2 separate regions of the Homo sapiens genome follow, and region 1 is linked to region 2. Evidence: promoter capture Hi-C in human tissues and cell types (Jung and others, 2019). All regions are on one chromosome and are shown on one strand. Each heading gives the region's core, a stretch centred on a gene start or on the middle of the fragment in contact. The rest is flanking DNA. Distances are from core to core; before and after follow the strand shown. Region 1 overlaps DLC1 (DLC1 Rho GTPase activating protein). Region 2 holds the start of C8orf48 (chromosome 8 open reading frame 48).

Region 1 (5,228 bases), core at 1,525-4,024, 470 kb before region 2:
ATCCTGCTGAGCCTTACAAGATGCCTCTGCCCTCAAGAGGTTTACCAGTCCTAACTGGAGTTAATTTCCCCCTAAGGGATCCCCGCTCATTAAAGGGCCAAGAGAACAGTAACTAAGAACAGAGAAGAGTGCAAAGGGATTCTGACCAAATTATGGAAAAATCGAAGCGTGTCATAGGATGTTCCGCATCTCAATGCCATTAGCAAAACATTCTAGGGAAGTCTAGTGTGATTCTGTAGAGCCAAAGGAGTTCATTAGAAATAGTTGAAATCCTCTCCCAAGTGTTACACAGGAAGAAAATTACTCTTGCTTTGCCCGGTTTCCACTCTCACCACGGGGATCTTACTCACCCCGGTGCCCAGCTCTACAAGGGAGGTTGTGGGCTACAGATCCCCAGACAGATTAGTTGGCAAAAGCGTGTTATCTCTGATGGACCCAAGCTTCGACTCCTGGACTCAACTAGCCGACAACAGGGTGAAGCCTTACCTTCTTATAGGACAGCTCAGCCTGCTCCGAAGTGGAGTAGCTGACCCAGCCTTTAAACTTCTCTTTGACTTCTTTAAACAGGCCATCCACACAGTCCTGGAGGAAGTGTTGGTAGTCAGCTGAGTCATCATTACCCAGGTGCCCGAGTGCTTCCAGAGTGAGGGGCTTCAGCTCTTGTTCGGTATAGGAATTACGACATCGGCTCATTTCCTCGGGAACCTGTGCGGAACATGACAGACAGAAAGGAGGTGAGTCCACCTGTACTCAATCTCAATGCCCATCAGTGGAAAAGACTGGGTAGGAACAATGGCCTGGTCCTTAAAGCAGTGCAGGCATCTTCCCGCCGGAGGTGGGCTATCATGCTGACCGCACGTGTTATCACGAGGATATGAACAGATCACCTCCATAAATGTATCTGAAATCTTATTTCCATGTAAGGTCTTTGGAAAGTTAGAGTAGGGGGAGTGAATTACATTGGTCAAAGCAGGTTTCTCAGATACGGAAGTGGATACAGCAGTTTAATTCCAGATAATTTGTTGCTTTTTCTTTCTTTCTTTCTTTTTTTTTTTTTTGAGAGAGAGTTTCATTCTGTTACCTAGTGGAGTGCAGTGGCAAAATATTGGTTCATTGCAACCTCCACATCCCTGGGCTCAGGTGATCCTCCCACCTCAGCCTCCCAAGTAGTTGAGACTACAGGTGTGCACCACCACACCCGGCTAATTTTTAAATTTTTTTTTGTAGAGATGAGGTCTCACCATGTTGCCCGGGTTGGTCTTGAACTCCGGAGCTCAAGTGATCCACCCACCTCAGCCTCCCAAAGTGTTAGAATTACAGGCGTGAGCCACTGCGCCCGGCTGCTTTTCCAAGTAAAGGGACAATTTCATTAAACATGATTAACTCTAGCTGATACATTATAATATATGTAAATAAGACATTCTCAGGCTATTTATACCGTCTCCAGCTGTGGAAAAGGTCTTCAGGTAAGACATGAACAAGGGTCAAGCCTAAGATTTTGTACCTATTCACATTATCCTTAATAAAGGAGCCAAACTTCTCAATTCCTTACCTGGAAAAGCTTCTTGCACTCGGCGATCATATGGGCCAGCCCTTGAGTGGCAGCTAGGTTTTCATTCAAATCTTTCTGATCTGGTTTGCCCAAACTTTGTTTTCTTTGCATTACCCTAGGTAGAAGAAATACAGGAGGGGAACAGTTCAAATATTTATATATTTTTCTTCAAGGTATTATTCAAGGAAACCCAAAGAAGAGAGAAAAAAAAATTTTCACTGGAATCTGTTTATTGTTAAGTGGATTAAGAGTGTTTTTACTTTGGTCACCAGAGTATCTCAGAGTTTTGTCAACAACACACAAAAAAACATTAAAGAGATATGCTTTTGATGAAATCCAGGTGATTCAAACCATTTAATTAAATAGGTTCCTACTGGGAACAGGGCAGCTTGTAGGGGCTGTGTTTGCATGGTGGGGGAGCAACTTCTGAGGAGTGTGGGAAAGGAGTCCCAGGGAGTTGGAGTAAAGGGTGTCATCATCTTTATCTGCCTGAATACACAGGCCCCCTCCCACAGGTGAGGGCTAAGTCCATTGTTTCCTTGACCTTTTGTCTTCATCTTATTTGATCTCTCTCCTCTACTCATCTCTAGCTCTGTATCCCATTGCAGTTGGAATGCCCCAGTCAACTTTAAGAACTATTTAAATGTGGCCGGGCGCAGTGGCTCACGCCTGTAATCCCAGCACTTTGGGAGGCTAAGCCGGGTGGATCATAAGGTCAGGAGCTCGAGACCAGCCTGGCCAACATGGTGAAACCCCGTCTCTACTAAAAATATAAAAATTAGCTGGGCGTGGTGGCAGGCACCTATAGTCCCAGCTACTCGGGAGGCTGAGGCAGGAGAATGGCTTGAACCTGGAAGGCAGAGGTTGCAGTGAGCTGAGATCGTGCCATTGCCCTCCAGCCTGGGCAACAGAGCAAGACTCTGTCTCAAAAGGAACTATTTAAACATACATTTAAACATTATATGACTTTCAGAAGCAACCTAACCTGCACTAGCATAACTAGGCCCCAGGCCTCTAGCTAAGAAATACTTTTCAAGTTCCTTTAGAGCTGAGGAAAAGGATCAGTTCGATGGATTTTGTCTGTGGGGGTTAAGTCCAGTGAGACTATTTTCTCATGCACGCCAACAGACCAGTCTCAGGTATGTCTTTATTAGCGGTGTGAGAATGGACTAATATAGCGGTCTAACCTTCTTGCTTGTTTCAGGAAAGAGTCCCACAAAACCACAGCTACGGAGAGTCCTAGGAAGAATGTAGGCTGCCCCCTGTGTGCATGCACCTCCCATGCAGCCCGTACCTGGGAGAGGAATTCTCTCTCTTCAGGGTGTTGAGATGGAAGAGGGAAGGCGCTAAGCACACGGCCAGGTTGGTTGGGGTCATCTGGTTTTCTTTTACGGCTGCTGTGACATCGCTCAGGAAATAAAGCAGGGTCTGCAGAACCTCCCGGTTCTCGTCAGGCAGCAGCATGATGGCAGCCTTGATGGCCTGCAGGCGCTGGTCCTTGGGCACATCTGCACGACACCAGCACTTTCTCCATCAGCTTGGTGAATTTGCATGGACATTGCAAGGAAATGTCCCAGAGCAAATATCGGCATCAAATACCTCAGCCCAGTACTGAACAAGCACTTGTAGAAAGTGCACTAGAGGTTAATACGGTAAAAGTTATGAATTGCCACCGGCGTCACTATCCTCAAGTATTTCCTGCCTCATGAAGGAGTGAAAAAATTTTTAAACACCCACAATACCCAAACACTCTTAAATCCACCTCAGAGTTCGGCTCTAGAGGATGCCTGCTCTTTTAGTTTACAGAACAGTTTTTTCTTTCCTAAGCATGAAAAAAAAAAATCCCTAATTTATCAATCTCAATTACTGAAAACACTATACACTTTTGTTTAGTGTTGATGAAAAATCTTATCTGAGATATGTACAAGAACGTAAGAACAGAGATCTCTCAGCCTTGAGTACAAAATGTTCAGTATCTCTGGAGATTTGCATGAGTTTAACTGATTTGTTCCTTCTTGAAGTGGGAAAAGCTGCTAAAATATTCAGTTCTGAATTGAACTGAACTGAAAATATTCAGTTCAGTTCAATTAATAAATAAAACACACTGAATTAGTAATTTCTTAAGTTTTAGAAAGCATGCTCGAGAGGCTATAAAAATGCATATGAATATGCAAATATATAAAAATGCAAATAAACCCATAAACAATCTACAGGTAGAAAATGCTGATCCCGATCTTCAGGTCTCCTTGAATACATAACTCTTTAAAAGAGCATGTGGTGGAAAAATCAAGTCACTCAAATGTAGCTCCATAGGACAAACTGATTAAACAGCTCCATGGTTACAGCACATAACAAATACCTCGGTGAGGAAAATGTGACCTGTGTTTTTATAAAATATGAAAGGATGAAACAACCAATGAAATAATCCAGACCAGCTCCATTTCTCATAAAATAAAGTCCACTGTGCCAATCCTAGAGACAATTTGAGCGCTAAGAGAGGCTGCTTTTAAATTACGTTGCTGTAATACCACACTGAGCCAAGAAAAACACAAGGCTGTAAAAGCCATAATCCTGATCTTGATCATTAATTTCGACAACTGTTTTCTTTAAGCTTTACATAAAAGTAAGAAGGGCATGGGTATTGTTCTCCCAAGTATTTCTGGCAGAGACTGAGATGAATAACAGAAAAAGATTATTTATTCATTTTACAGCAAGATAAAACACACAGACACCTGTGAAATTTTAAATCCAACGGCCCTCCAAGAGGGGTGTGAAGCAACTGAAATTTCTGTAGACAAGGTGGAGACAGAAAGAGATCTTCGTACCTGATCTTTATCTGACCAGCTCAGATAACACTGTTCTAGAAACTAATGAAAGTCTAACTTTTCATTTTGCACGTAAAAACGTACAATTGCATCAGTCATTAGAGACTGGGAAATTTATTTTCACATCATTCAATAATTACACAGAAACCTGTTCCACAAACAAGGCGGCAAGGAAGAAGGTGATGACATGGGTTTCCAAGAGGTCACCATGCAGACTCTCTTGTCAAAAGAACGCTATCAAGGCCAGGCGTGGTGGCTCACACCTGTAATCCTAGCACTCTGGGAGGCCGAGGTGGGAGGATCACTTGAGGTCAGGAGTTCGAGACCATCCTGGCCAATATGGTGAAACCCTATCTCTGCTACAAATGCAAAAATTAGCCAGACGTGGTGGCGCCCTCCTGTAGTCCCAGCCACTTGGGAGGCTGAGGTGGGAGAATCGCTTGAACCTGGGAGGCAGAGGTTGCAGTGAGCCGAGGTCACGCCACTGCACTCCAGCCTGGATGACAGAGCGAGACTCCATCTCAAAAAAAAAAAGAATGCTATCAAGGAAGCTACAAGCTTCAGTTGGTCCCATTTTTCCCCAATGCCAACAATCTTAAGATCAAAGGACACTCACATTGGTAGATCTGTAGAAAGGTTTCCGAGAGTTTGTTCGTCATTAGTGGCTCAGGAAGATCTCGAAAATACTGCTTCAGCATGTCTGCCACGTCATAAGCAGACTGTCCTTCGTAGTTGACACAGTCTATGGCACCTTCATTCATCTGGCGCAGAGCCTGAATCCGGGACTTGACCCCCGATTTTCTGAAGAGCCCAACCTGTCGGAAGAGCAACACTAAGTGTGGGGTACATTC
Region 2 (5,047 bases), core at 299-2,798:
CTCCCTTGTTCAATGTTATGGATAAGATATAGCTAAAACATGAATAGTGTGTAAATATGAATGTGTAAATATTCAGAGAATGAGGCAGAGATTTGAAATAATAAATAAGGAAAATATTGAGCCCTATTGGAAATTACTTGGAGTTACTCACAAATTACATGCCACCTCTTTTTTAAAGACTACCATTATATGATAAAATAAAATTTGGGTTGAATAAATGAAGTTGGAGTCTCCTTATCTTCAACAGGAAGCTGGCTCATATACTTGAGAGATGCTTTTTGAATATTTGACTTTCACTTTTTGCCAGAATGAACATTTGGGGAATATATCTGGCTAGACCTGAATAATACCCCCCAATCCCCAAGAAACACAGGAAGAAAGAGAGAGAGAGACAAAACTGAGAAAGAAGGGTGTCTAGGCTCTTAAAATTATCCTAGACATTGACTAAGTCCTAGACTCAAGAACTATTATAACCTAGGAAAAGTCCATCTCTAGAGTTAACATTTTATAATTTCTCACGATAATTAATAAAACTCTACTGTGTTTTTTAAATGAATCCATTAATAAAAAATATATCCTGTGTAATAGCCTAAGTTTGGGGATTCAGTTAGAAAAAAGGTTAGAGTTCCCTGAACTTATAGTACTTATTTCTCCAAATCCTCTGGACGTGTGTAAGGTAAGATTTATTTGTTCCATAGCCATTCACTCAACAGAGATTTCTTGAACACCTGCTATGTGTCTGCTGATTGCTGGGCTCATACTAGTCGGCAACACCGACATGATTTCTGCCTTCAGCCTTCATAATCAGATACTCATACAATCACATAGTTGGACACTATTTAAAAAAAAATGCTGGAAAGAGTTTAAGGCAGGGGTGGGTATTAAGCCCTTCCTGAGGAAATGGGACTCGGAGGAGGAGGATAAATTAACGATATTAAGAGTGAGGACGGGCGTGGATATGCTAGCCAGAGGGGACCTGTATGGACAAAAGGCCAGAGAAACTGATTTGGAAAATTAAGGTCCTCCCCCGCCCCTGCTCCCCACCCCCGACCCCGCCCAAACTTCGAGGTCCTCAGAATGCTGGAGCACAGAACACTACTTCTTACAGAATGGTTTCTGTATTTTGACTTTTCCCCAAAGACATGCTCTACAAGGAGGTGTCTCTTGGCTATAAACACTGCAGACAAGTTTTTGCTTGTGCATCTTGTCCAGCGCGTTTTGCTTGATTTTTAAATCTAGATGCATTTAGGCGGGCGTACACGTTCGGATTTGTCACAGGCCACCTAACTCTATTGGTCTCACACACGTGTGCCACCTGTCTGACCCCTGGGAAACAGAGTTTGCAAGGTTTTCCCGTTGACTACTCGACTTTAGCACCAAAGAGAAGCAGGAGTGCAGAAGACAGGGCAAAATCGCCAACCCGGCGCAAGCAGCGCAAGCGCAGTGGGCGCTGGGGAGCGCGGAGGAAAAGGCGGGACGCCGCATGGTGGCCAGTCACTGCGCATGAGCGGCCCGCGTTGCCAAGACAGCTGGGAAGGCGTCTCCCGGAAGACGACCTCCGCAGAGCTGATGGCATTGAGATCCATTCCCGGAGGGGTCAGCTCCTGACGGGTTCCTGAGCCAGTCTTAACCTGGGCAAAGGAGATGAGGAGCCGAGCCTGATGCATTGTGATGGCCATCTGCCCAGAATTGGCCCAAACGGACAAAAGTGCTCTTGCAAACCTTTCTGATGAGACTGAGACTTTGAAGAACTCTACTGATGAGGTACAGACTTCCAGCTCATTCAGCTCCTCTGGAGGACGGCAGTCCTCGCCCCTGACCTCTGGGAGCAAACTGGAGAGGGAAAAGCAGACTCCAAGCTTGGAACAAGGAGACACACAATCTGAGCTTTTGGACTATAAAAATTATGAAAAGAAGTTGAGTAAAAAATGGATCAACTACCTCAAGCTCAAAGACTCTAACTTTGAACGGCACCAACCAGACACCAAACTTCCAACAGAAATCACTCGGGTATCAGATGAAGAATTGAATGCCCTGCAGTCTTATTGCACCATGAAGATAAATTTGATTCATCGTAGAGGGGATTCTAAGAAGAAGACGAGCAGCAGACATAAAAAGCTGCATCTTGGATTGGATGTAGAGGCTTCAGAGAGAGATGCCTTTAGTTGTACTGTACCCGATGAACTTTTGAACAGAATCTACTTTAAAAACATGAGGACAACGCCAAAACAGGAGGCAGCAGCTAAGCAACACATATCTTATCAGTGTCCCTATTGTAACAGGAAAAGAGCGGAGCTGGCCCTGTCTGCCTTTCTGAAACAAAAGAAGACTTTACTGGAGTCATTTCTACTCCAAGAGAGAATAGATGAACATCTTCATACCAAAGACTTTCTCACCCGTATTGGAGAAGCACATCAAGACTTTCCCAGGCTTTCAGATGACCCCAGAATAATCTGGAAAAGACTGACTGAGAAAAGTCATATCAGATACTCTGGTTTTGAAAGATCAGAGACAGAGCAGAAGTTGCAGCGAGATGGAAATAGTGCTTGTCATTTACCATTTTCTCTGCCATTTCTCAAGCGACTTACTCTAATCAAACCAGAGCTGGTGATTGTTAATGATAATGTGTAATGTGGATAGATGTCTTTGTTGTGTATTTGAGTAATTACCATAATTTCTACAGGCACTTGGGAAACTAACTTAAGACTTTACTATGCTTCCTTCACAGATTTGAGGACTAAGAACTTTCACTTTTTTTTTCCTATTATAGAAGGCACTGTTGTAGTTGGAATAGTTATAAAAACTTTTACAAAATTCCAAGAGAACTATGTTGGTAGTTTGGGCCAGGATGTTGATGGTACAGAAGCAAAGTAGTATGGGGATGTAAGAGAAACTTAAAAAGTAATAACTGTCTTTGGCGATCAAATGGCTATGGGGAATTAATAAATAGTAGATGTTTGAAATGTTATTAAGGCTCTGACTTGTGCGCCCGGATGAATGATCATTAATTTCATTAAGACAGGAACACCAGAAGAGGACTATGTTTGATGGAACTGTTGAAGAGTATGATTATTTGGACATATAAGGTGCATTTGGGACATACACATTGACAGTTTGAAGAAACATTTGATTATTTGTTTTTGCGCTTCAGAGGAAAGGTATAGCCTAGAGGTGCAAAATAAATTGGGGTAGGACTGGGGGAAGGGTGGGGATCAATGGCATATAGCTGGAAGTTGAAGCCGTAGATTGTCAAGCGTTTTTGGAAATGAATAAGAAGAGAAGCAGGGTTGATACAAACTCTTGAGAAATGCCAATTAATGGCTAAGTAGAGAAAAATAAACCTGCAGAAAAGATTGTGAAAAAAGTTATCAAGTGGATCAAGGAAATCAGGAATGTATAGTGTCATAGATGCTAAGGAATGAATATTTAAAGAAGGATAGTTGTCTAACCACATCAATCAACAGAGAAGCCATGTAAAGATGATTTAGTCATGTATTGGGCACTGCTGACCTTAGCAAAAGCCATTTCACTTATACAAATGGGGCAGACAAAATAGATTGAGGAAAAATGTAAGTAAATAATGAATGGATATAGGGTACTCCTTGAAATATTTAGCTGTAAGGGGAAGAAGAAGTAAAGCTGGGGTTAGGTGTTGAGTTTTGAGAGAAGAACGCTTAAACAAATTATCTAGATAGCCATTTTGGTCGTGAAGATTTTATGAACCTTCTGTTGTTCATCCAAATTTATGTAATGAGGAAACAGTATTATTCCACAAGGAATACCATGGCATTTTGAAAACACATTTATGGAGAAAAATGTTAGATGGCATTCTGAGAAGCCATTTATTATCTATTTCCTCTATAAAAATATAAAACCATGGAATTAGTGGCATTACCTGGAGATCACTTTTCTACATGTCCAACACCTGAATTATCTCAGTGAAAAAGAAATTTGTTTGCAAAAATCAGCACAGAAGAGTTTTAGTATTGTACTTCAGTATTACTCTTTGCGTTAAGACCTTCATTTATGTATAAAGATACTATTTTTTTCCCCCATAAAATTTAGCATATTTCCCCTTAGTAAGTCATTCTAAATGGAAAATAACCATTACCATTTTCATAATAACCTTTTATTTGAAATCCATATTATGTCATGCTTTATCTTTGACATCTCAATATATTCATGTTTTACATAATCAAAATTCTGAATAATTTTCCCTTTAGAATTCCCCCATTAAAGGGCATGCTCCACCCTTTTAGTCAACCAAGCTAGAAATCTGAGTCATCTTTTGTTCTTCCTTTTTATTTTTCAACTCAACCCCAAGCTATTTTTCAGCAAGACTTTCAGCATACAGTTCCCAAATGTCAGCATACAGTTCTCAGAATTACTATTTTTTAAATTTGTTACTTATTTATTATTGAGACAGGGTCTGGCTCTATCACCCAGGCTGGAATGCAGTGGTGCAATTACTGCTTACTGCAGCCTCAACCTCTAGGATTCAGGTGATCCTCTCACCTCAGCCTCCCCAGCAGCTGGGACTACAGGTGCGTGCCGCCACGCCTGGCTAAATTTCTTTATTTGTATTTTCAGTAGAGAAATTTTGCTATGTTGCCCAGACTGGTCTGGAATTCCTGAGCTCAAGCAATCCTCCTGTCTCAGCCTTCCCAAGTGCTGGGATTGCAGGCACGAGCCACTGTGCCCAGGAGCCCAGAATTATTTTTCTAACACACAAATCTGTTCAAGTAATTCTGTTGATTTAAAACAAAACAAAACTCTAAGTTGTTTATCTCTGATATGGAAATATTTCAAACTAATTAAGGTCACATAGTGGTTCTTTAACATCTGGCCCAACTTTACCTTTCTATTCTCATGTAATCCCTCCCCACTATATTCAAGCGTCTCTACATTACTTCCCTGAGCTCTTTTGTGTCACTATGGTTTCTATGTGCACATTTGTTTCCCCTAAATTCTCTCTTTTTTTTTTTTTATTATACTTTAAGTTTTAGGGTACCTGTGCACATTGTGCAGGTTAGTTACATATGTATAC

Evidence for each region. Contacts are between HindIII fragments. The study calls those that stand out against the background at their distance.
Region 1: a contact is called between a fragment that was not itself captured here and the fragment with the promoter of C8orf48 in region 2, in 2 of the 25 tissues and cell types used here (aorta and mesenchymal stem cells).

Annotation. Positions count from the first base shown.
Region 1 is chr8:13,089,766-13,094,993 of GRCh38, forward strand. DLC1 (DLC1 Rho GTPase activating protein) reads right to left here. Exons shown (of 18, transcript NM_182643.3): 12 at 4,994-5,192; 13 at 2,847-3,060; 14 at 1,553-1,667; 15 at 487-705. Among named protein-coding and RNA genes, the nearest start is that of TRMT9B, 150 kb to the left of the region's middle. RefSeq lists an enhancer at 101-1,300. The HindIII fragment of the contact is 3,549 bases long and covers 1,001-4,549 here.
Region 2 is chr8:13,565,321-13,570,367 of GRCh38, forward strand. C8orf48 (chromosome 8 open reading frame 48) reads left to right here and starts at 1,549. Exons shown (of 1, transcript NM_001007090.3): 1 at 1,549-2,968. The coding sequence starts at 1,672. The coding sequence ends at 2,631. It also overlaps a transcript of DLC1 not described here. The HindIII fragment of the contact is 18,894 bases long and covers 1-5,047 here.